Linked DNA regions of Homo sapiens: regions 1 and 3 are each linked to region 2. Evidence: promoter capture Hi-C in 16 types of primary human blood cells and fetal thymus (Javierre and others, 2016). All regions are on one chromosome and are shown on one strand. The core of a region is centred on a gene start or on the middle of the fragment in contact, and the rest is flanking DNA. Distances in the headings are between cores, read along the strand shown.

Evidence for each region. The method cuts DNA at HindIII sites, captures the fragments that hold promoters and counts their contacts. A CHiCAGO score of 5 or more calls a contact.
Region 1: a fragment that was not itself captured here is called in contact with the fragment with the promoter of RICTOR in region 2 in 1 of 17 cell types (neutrophils); the score reaches 6.0 in neutrophils.
Region 3: a contact is called between a fragment that was not itself captured here and the fragment with the promoter of RICTOR in region 2, in 1 of 17 cell types (neutrophils). The highest score is 5.6, in neutrophils.

What each region holds. Positions count from the first base shown.
Region 1 is chr5:40,783,556-40,786,762 of GRCh38, forward strand. All of the region lies in intron 1 of PRKAA1 (protein kinase AMP-activated catalytic subunit alpha 1), which reads right to left. All of the region lies in intron 2 of LOC124900968 (a long non-coding RNA gene), which reads left to right. Among named protein-coding and RNA genes, the nearest start is that of PRKAA1, 13 kb to the right of the region's middle. RefSeq lists an enhancer at 829-973 and a cis regulatory region at 894-907. The HindIII fragment of the contact is 6,578 bases long and covers 1-3,207 here.
Region 2 is chr5:39,072,699-39,075,847 of GRCh38, forward strand. It overlaps RICTOR (RPTOR independent companion of MTOR complex 2), which reads right to left and starts at 1,701. Exons shown (of 38, transcript NM_152756.5): 1 at 1,631-1,701; 2 at 1,413-1,460. The coding sequence starts at 1,679. RefSeq lists enhancers at 534-1,060, 1,587-2,113 and a silencer at 999-1,898. The HindIII fragment of the contact is 5,742 bases long and covers 5-3,149 here.
Region 3 is chr5:40,846,890-40,849,735 of GRCh38, forward strand. The region is part of intron 2 of CARD6 (caspase recruitment domain family member 6); the gene reads left to right. Among named protein-coding and RNA genes, the nearest start is that of CARD6, 6.9 kb to the left of the region's middle. The HindIII fragment of the contact is 9,183 bases long and covers 1-2,846 here.

The sequences.
Region 1 (3,207 bases), core at 438-2,937, 1.7 Mb after region 2:
GACCAGTTTGGCCAACATGCTGAAACCCCATCTCTACTAAAAATACAAAAAAAATTAACCAGGCGTGTTGGCACGCACCTGTAATCCCAGCTACTTAGGAGGCTGAGGCAGGAGAATCGCTTGAACCCGAGAGGCGGAGGTTACAGTGAGCGGAGATCATGCCACTGCACTCCAGCCTGGGCAACAGAGCGAGACTCCATCTCAAAAAAAAAAATTTCCAAAGGGGAAAAAAACAATTGGAAGTAGTATTAGCAGATTCACCTTTTTTGGAAGTAGAGTTGAATAGGGTTGAACCCCTAATTCCAATTGCACATGTGAAAGCAGTATGTATACAAAGCATAGATTTTATAGTCGCACAGACCTCGGTTTTATTCCTGTTTGAAGGTACTTACTAGATGTTTGACTTGGGCAAGTTAAAGAAACTACAACCTTCTATTTACTCATCTTTAAAATAAGAATACCACATACTCCATAAGGGTGACTATAACAGATACATGGAATAGTGTTTGTAAAGCACTTTCCACAATGCCTGGCATATAGCAAGTGATTGATAAATAAATGGTAGCCTTTATTATTTAGGGTTATTTATTTTCCACTGCTCCCAGACCTGTTCCCCCATCTGTATCTAATCAGCCCTGAATTATTTGTTTTAATCTCTGAATAGCCAGTTTTATCTCAGCTCTGATTGGTGATACCTATCCATGTAGATGCAATAGCATTCCTTTATCCAGGTACATAAGTGCTAAATAAATAATAGCTGTCATTTTAATGTATCTAGCTCCCATTCCCATATACTTCAATCCCTCCAACCCGCTCCACCACTCCTACCCCACCACCACTACCACCAATCCTCAGATTTCTACCTTCCAAAGTTCAACTCATTTCCTGACTTTGGTTAATGTTCAACAGATTACTATCAGACATATATACACATAACACCAATCCTTGACAGTGATTTCACCTACTACAGGAACACTTGTTTGGTCACAGAAGAACACAGAGGAAAAAAGCAGCTTAATTTGATGTGAGTTTTAATAAACAAGGGCTCTTTTTTTAACAAAAACAATTTTTTACAACATAAATCTAGTTCCTTTACAATACATAATTAAAGTATACAACTTACTAGTTAATATTTGCAGCATACTCACTTTGTACCCAAACATACTGACACACTCTCACCAACCTGGAAGACTTGGCATTATTAGCAACATTTTACAGGAAACTGAGGCACAGAAAGATGAAATAACTTGCCCAAAGTTACACAGCTAATGAGTGGAAAAGCCAAAACTTCAACCCAGGTCAGACTCTTAAAGTTATGCTTTTTCCGAACATGGTTAAGTGAAATTTGATTTTTTTAAAAAGATAATCCTCAGAAGACATGTAAAAATACACATCCTTTTAATAAAACATAAATGGAAGTTAAACATATCAGAGAAATTCTTAATGTATATACAGTTTTGAAAAGAATAGACTGAATTCCTTGTAGTAATAAGAATTATCCAGAAATGCATTCAATCATACAAATTCATTCATTCAAGAAATATTTGAGTACCAGCACCTACTATGTGCCAGGCACTGCTACTATGACCTCCTTCCTGTATCAGAACATGAATCCAGTGTACTGAAAACCTGCCTCATATCAATTTCAATGTCTTAGGATTCCACAGACATTTTATTTTATTTTATTTATTTTTTATTTTTGAGACGGAGTTTTGCTCTTGTTGCCCAGGCTGGAGTGCAATGGCATGATCTCAGCTCACTGCAACCTCCGCCTCCTGGGTTCAAGCGATTCTCCTACCTCAGCCTCCCAAGTAGCTGGGATTACAGGCACCTACCACCTCGCCCGGCTAATTTTTGTATGTTTAGTAGAGATGGGGTTTCACCATGTTGGTCAGGCTGGTCTTGAACTCCTGACCGCAGGTGATCCGCCCCCCCTCGGCCTCCCAAAGTGCTGGGATTACAGGCATTAACCAACCACGCCCAGCCCACAGACATTTTACTAATACATTCTATCAAACCAATTTAAAAGTTACTCAAAAACTAAGAAAGAAAGCATAAAACTAAAAGTATACAAAATATAAAAACAAGTGTAGTGAAGTGAATAACGTCCCCACAAAATCTATGTCAACCCAGAATCTCTGATTGTTATCTTATTTGGAAATAGGATCTTTTCAGACGTGACTAGTGAAGGATTTGAAGATGAAATCTTACTGGATTTAGGGTGAGCCCTATATCTAATGCCTGGTATCCTTACAAGAAGAGGAGAGCACACACACACACACACAGAGAGAGAGAGAGAGAGAGAGAGAGAGAGAGAGAGAGAGCAAGCGAGCGCAGCCATTTGAAGACAGAGGCAGAGACTGGAGTTATGCTATCACAAACCAAGGAACATCAGGAGCCACAAGAAGGTGAAAGAGGGCTGGGCACGGTGGCTCACGCCTGTAATCCCAGCACTTTGGGAGGCCGAGGCGGGGAGATCACCTGAGGTCAGGAGTTCGAGACCAGCCTGGCCAACATGGCGAAACTCCATCTCTACTAAAAATAGAAAAATTAGCCAGGAGTGGTGGAACACACCTATAGTCCCAGCTACTTGAGAGACTGAGGCAGGAGAATCACTTGAACCCAGGAGGCGGAGGTTGCAGTGAGCTGAGATCATGCCACTGCACTCTATTCTGGGTGACAGAGTGAGACTCCGTCTCAAAAAAAAAAAAAAAAGCAGCAGCAGCTGGAAGAGGCAAGGAACAGATTCTCCACTAGAGCCTTCAGAAGAAACATGGCCCTGATGGCCCTTTGATTTCAAATTTCTCACCTCCAGTACTGGCAAAGAATAATTTTCTGTTGCTGTAAGTCATTGAGTCTGTGGCATTGTTACGGCAGCCCTAGAAATGGATATAGTTAGTTTATCAGTTGAAAAGTGGATTTTCTAAAGAAGTACCAAACAGTAATCATAGAGCTGAGGAATAGTATAACTGAACTGAAAAATTCAATAAAGGGGTTCAACCACAGGCTACATCAAGCAGAAGAAAAGATTAGTAATTAGAAGACAGGCCACTGGAAATCATACAATCTGAAGAAGAAAAAAGGATAAAGAATGAAAAACAGTGGTCAGGCATGGTGGCTCACGCCTGTAATCCCAGCACCTTGGGAGGCCGAGGCAGGCAGAGCACTTGAGGTTAGGAGTTCAAAACTGGCCTGGCCAACATGGTG
Region 2 (3,149 bases), core at 451-2,950:
CAAAAGCTTTACATCTTTCTATACTAATTCTCAAAACCGATCTGCTGAAAAAAATGGTGGAAATTAGTGCATTGATAATCTAATTAGTAGCCATTTTCAGGATTTAAGCTCTACTATATTGTATTATATTTTAGAAACTGTCTTGTAAAAGGACCTAGTTCACCCAAAACTAAGTCCCTGAACTTTCAGAATAAAATATTAAGTTATAAAAATGTACTCTTGTAGCTAAGTGAAAGCTGACCATTCAGTTTATAAAACAGTAATCTTACATCGTGATAAGCAAAATAAAACAAATTAGAAAATGCACTATGCTTTCACTCTAGCCGTTGTCAACAAGGAGCCCAGCTTTAACAAATTACTGTAGATAACAGTCATTACGTCAGGTACGACATAGGGTAAAAAACTGATCTCATACAGAATGTCTACAACAAGTTTTTTTGTTTACTTCCTAAGGTGTTTTATAGACCTCAGAAACTGATTCTGTACAGCTGAACCGGGTTACACTCCAAGCTACAGCCCGTGTGAAATATGACTTCGTCGGAATCAGTAGGCTCAATCCTGTTTACCGTGGAAGAGAAAAGAATCTTGTACGTAACTACTAAATCTTCAACGAGATAATGTCGAATAAACTCTAGTACTGTAAGTGATAGAGGAAACACTGGCTAGTAACGGGATTAGGTCATTAAAAATATCACCCGAGTTTCCCCAGTTCGGAAGGTGTAAACAAACCCATCTCCACTGCAGAAGGTAAACAATGAACCTGCAGCAGGGTGAGGGGGCGGTCTTTAGCCAACTACAGTCCCAGCGGCCCGGGAAAGGGAAGCAGAAGGGAAACAGCATAAACCAGACATTTAGCAGTAATGACCAGTTCTAGGTTTCACTACCAAGTTATCAATGCTGCGGGTCCCCACAGGACGGTGGGCAAAGGGGAAAGCAGTCACGCAGTCGGCAAGCACCGAGCAGGTCCGGCTTCTGCTCCGGGGACGGGGAGGGCAGGATGTGGTCGCTCTTCCCTCAAACATCCTCCTGCAACCTAAATAACAGCCTCTACCTCCCTCCAGCTGCCCCTAGCTTGGGCTGCCGGACTCCGGGATAGGTGCAAACCACTCTGCCGGAGCTCGAGCCCAGAGGGTCGCCGGGTCTGCCGAGTTCCACTCGGGGCTCCCCCGCACCCGCAGCAGCCCGAGGCCCGGAGAAGGGCTCGGGCGAGGGAAGCGGGCGCTGGGTAGGGGGATGGGTCCGGCGAGGCGGCCCCGGGCTCGGTTCCCGCGGGCCGGCAGGCGGGGCTCCGGCTCTGGCCCCCGCACCCCGCCGGTCCCGTGCGGGGCCCGCCCCTGCCTCTGGCCCCCAGCCCCGGACCCGGCTCCTCCCCAGCAGCGCGCCCTCGCGGCGCCCGCGGCGCCCCGCGTTACCTCGGGTCAGATCCAGCGGGACGTTCTCCTCGCCGCTGTCATTCCGCCCTGCGCGAAACAGACACACAGCCCCAATTAGGATTGGCTCGCAGGCCAGCTGCGGCTGCCCTGGCTCCGGCCAGCGCCCCGGCTCGCTCCCCAACCCAGGGCCAGGGGAAGGCAAGTGCCAGGGGTGGCGGGCGCCGGGCGGTGGGGAGTGAGGGTTGCAGCGGGCTTACCTCGTACTCGGAGGTTCTTCAGAGAGCGGCCGCGGCCGATCGCCGCCATATTGACGGGTTTCAGTCACAACACCGGAAACCTCGCCCAATCGCGCGAGAACCCCTTCCCCTCCCCGCGCGCCGCGCCCGCCCCCCGCGGCACCTCCCCCGCCCCCTCGGCGGCGACGGCGGCGGGTGGTGCAGGCTCGGCCCCAGCGCTGAGGGAGCACTGAGCCGACCCAAGGTCTGCAAGGAGTTCGCGGCACCCGCCCGCCCACGCCGGACCCGGAGGGCACGTCCGCCGGGAGGGGCAGTTCCCACGAGGAAAGTCCCATTGATGCGAGTTGGCAGTGTAGAGGATGCTCCCCTCCGGCCGCCGCGGAAGCCGTCGTCCAAATGCAGGCGAGCGGGGAGGAGGAGGCCGGGATGCGGCCGGCGGGCCACCTGCTCTCGCCGGCCTGCCAGTCTCCTGCTTGCTCTGAAGCCCTGCCATAGACGGCCCCGCTCCCCCGTGTATCCACTGAAACATTTTTTTATAAAAACGCTGCGCACAGTTTTAGACTCCTTTCCTGGAATCGCTTTGCTCCAACTAAGTTAACACGTAACAAAGTTTGTTTTCCAGCCTCGCCCTTGATCTTCAGAATGCCCCTCTCGGCTAGGAGGGCTTCTCCAAGTGGAAGTGGTTAGGCAGTTTTGTTTTTGGCCGCCAGGCGTAGGACGCGAGAAGGGGGTGCAGCGGCCGGGGACCAGGGCGGCGGTCCCCGCGGTGGGATCGCGCCAGCGCCGGGAGGCCGGGGAGAGGGTGTTCTCTGCCGGGAGCCGAGGCGAGGCTGCTGGGTACTGTGTCCGGCTTTTATGGCTCTGCAGCTCCTAGGATCGTGGCTCATGCAGGTGTTGTGGATTAATCTATTTTATGCATAAGCCTATTAACATTAGGGATTTTAATTCTAGAAACTGCTTAGTTAATACGTATGTGTACACACACACACACACACACACACACACACACACACACACACACACACACACACACACACACACACACCTGGCCACTGACCCAGCAGCTTTCTCTTGAACTACATTTACTTTAAAGAGAGGAGCGATTTGTCCTCTCCAGTTCCTCAGCTCATCTTTCTATTCCATGAGACTGAAAGTTAATTAAAAGTGGAGATCTAGCCTTAACCAGTTCTGTTTTCCCAGCTCCCAGTTAATGCAATATCTGGCACAAATAAGTATTCAATAAATATCTGTTGGATGAGTAAGTGCCCTGGATTTCTAATTTATTCCAATTCTCTGCTTACTTTAAAAAAGAAAAAAAAAGCAATATTGGGGATATTTGTTGAAGTTGTTAATAAGAGTGAACATTTGGAAACACTTAAATGACCAAAGGTAGGGATTATGTAAATTATGTCAACGATTAAAAGTGAAGAGGTAGACTTAGTAATAGGAAATAATGTTCATGATATTAAATCAAGCAAAATATTACAAATTTCCTGTTTTATAATAAAAGTTTAAATATGTACGAAATTAAAAATATACA
Region 3 (2,846 bases), core at 213-2,712, 1.8 Mb after region 2:
CCATTACTTCTGCCACATTCTGTTGACCAAAGCAAGTCTCAAAGCCAGGTTTAGGGTTGGGGGAAAACAAGTTCTACTTCTTGCAAAATAAGATAGCAAAGACTATGGATACCAGAAAGCCATTAACTGGGGACATTATTACAATCAGTCTAACATCTTTAGTAAAACAGATCAAGAGAAGTCTTAATAATAATGTAGTTATGATCTGCAATGTAATTCTAATGGCTGCCCATCCACTCTAGTTGACTGGAGGCACGTGGCTATTCTTTGTTTCTTTCCCAAGTAATATTTGTCTGTGCAGCTGAGAAATGAAAAAAATAGTTCTAAATCAAAGGAAGGTCTTCATGCTCTTTGTCATGTGAAATTTTATGTAAAAAATATCACAGTGTCACAGTCTCAGAAAGGCTTAAACTATTGCCTTGTGTGCTCTGCACTATAGAAGTTCAACTTGTATAGACAGTATCAATTGACTCTCTTCCCCCTCCAGCTTGTTGTTGGGTTCAACCATTGGGTGGAACCAATATGTTTACCTTTCCCTGTGGCCTTTCTTTTTTCCTGAAGATCCAGGTTTTCATTTTATATTATTTTCCTTTAGCCTGAAAAATTTATTTATTTTTTCTCTTAGTACAAGTCTGCTGGTGGTAAATTCTCTTAGTTTTTGTTTATTGAAAGATATTTTTATTTTGCCTTCATTCCAGAAGGTTGCTTTTGCTGGATATAGGATTCTACAACTTTTGCCTTTAACATGTTATGGATGCCATTCCTCTGTCTTTTAGCTTCCATTGTTTCTGATGCTAAATCTTCAGTCATTTTATCATTGATCCTCTGTAAGTGCTGTGTCATTTATCTCTGGTTGTTTTCAAGATTTTTTCTTAATTTTTTTTGAGCAGTTGACTCTGATGTGTCTGGGGTGATTTTTTTTTTCTCTTAGTGTTTGCAGAGTTTCCTGAATCTATACAAAAACTTTTAATCAAATTTGGAAACTTTTCAGCTGTTATTTACCGAGATTTTTTTCTTTCTCACTTCTTCTCTTCTCTCTTTCTGAGACTTCGAGTACATGAATTTTAGAGTTTTAAAAATATTGTTCTACAGGTTCCAGAGACTTTGCTCAGTTTTCTTTAATATTTTTTCTCTCTGTTCTTCAGGTTAGATATTTACTTTCTTCTGTCATCTCCAATTTGTTGTTAGCCCATCTAGTGATTTTAAACAAATTCATATATTGTGATTTTTAATTCCAGAATTTCCTGTTTAAAAATACTTTATATTTTTTTCTGAGAATTCCTATTTAATCATTCATTGTGGACTTACTTAATTTTAATTGTTTTTTTTTTTTTTTTTGAGACAGAGTCTTACTCTGTTGCTCAGGCTAGAGTGCAGTGGCACAATCTTGGCTCACTGCAGCCTCAGTCTCCTAGGCTGAGGCTCAAGCCATCCTCCCACCTCGGCCTCTCAAGTAGCTAGGGCTACAGGCACAGACCGCCAGGCCTGGTTAATTTTGTATTTTTTGTAGAGACAGGGTTTTCACGATGTTGCCCAGGCTGGTTTTGAACTCCTGGGCTCAAGTGATCCTCCTGCCTCAGCCTCCCACTGTTTTGGAATTACAGGCATGAGCCACCATGCCTGACTGTAAAATTCTTATATGCTAAATCTAACATCTAGGTCATTTTGGATTCAGTGTCCATTGAGTATGAGTTACATTTCTTGTTTCTTCCTATGTCTATTAGCTTTGGATTGTGTTCTATCCATTGTATATAATAGGTCATAGAGACTCTAGATTGTTATATTTCTCCCAAGAGTCTGAATATTATTTTAGTCTGTTTTTGTCTCCAGTTAACCTAACTGTATTTAAATTCAAAATTTAGACTCCTTTTCCATGGGTGGCAGCTGAAATCTCTGTTTATTTCTTTTTGCCTTAGCTGAGTTATTTTTATGAATTTTTAATTTATAAAATTGAGATTAGTTTCCTGATATTATTGCTTACTTTTTTCACCTAGCTCTGTGCTTAATTAGATACATCTCTGTTTTGTGTGTACATCTACTCTGTTGCTTTGATCTGCTCCATAGTGACACTGTTATTACCTTGTCGACACACCTGGCTTGGATCCTGTGGGTATTGATGTCTTTCTTTTTTTTTGAGATGACAGGCTGGAGTGCAGGGCCACAATCTTGGCTCACTGCAACCCTGCAACCTCCACCTCCTGGGTTCAAGTGATTCTCCTGCCTCAGCCTCCTGAGTAGCTGGGACTACAGGCACCTGCCACCACACCTGGCTAATTTTTGTATTTTTAGTAGAGACGGGGTGTCATTATGTTGGCCAGGCTGGTCTCGAACTCCTGACCTCAGGTGATCTGCCGACCTCATCCTCCCAAAGTGCTGGGATTATAGGTGCGAGCCACTGCACCCAGCCATGGGTACGAATTTCTGGCTGAAGAAGTAGAGAATTGCTTTCCTAAGGCAAAGTATGAGACAGGAAAAAGCAGAACTTAAAAGCTGTCCTGCAACCTATTCTCTCACTGCTTCCTCTGTGAACTCTTTCTTCATGCTAGATTCAACTTCCCCCTCACCTTTTTGCCCCAACACATATATCAGTTCAAGCAACTTTGAGACTACTCAAGGGCTTCTTATAGTTACTTTTATTAATTCCTAAAATCTATGCTTTTCTCTTATTTCTGTTGTTTCTTCAAAGCTATTTTTAAGGGTAATTTTACATTTTTACACTAGCTGGCCGTCTGTCAGGAGTAGAAAATCTAGGCTGATCTTCTCTCTCTGTTATGTACTATCTCTGTATTTATAAGATGTAGGTAGGCCAGCCAGGGTGGCTCATGCCTACAATCCCAACACTTTGG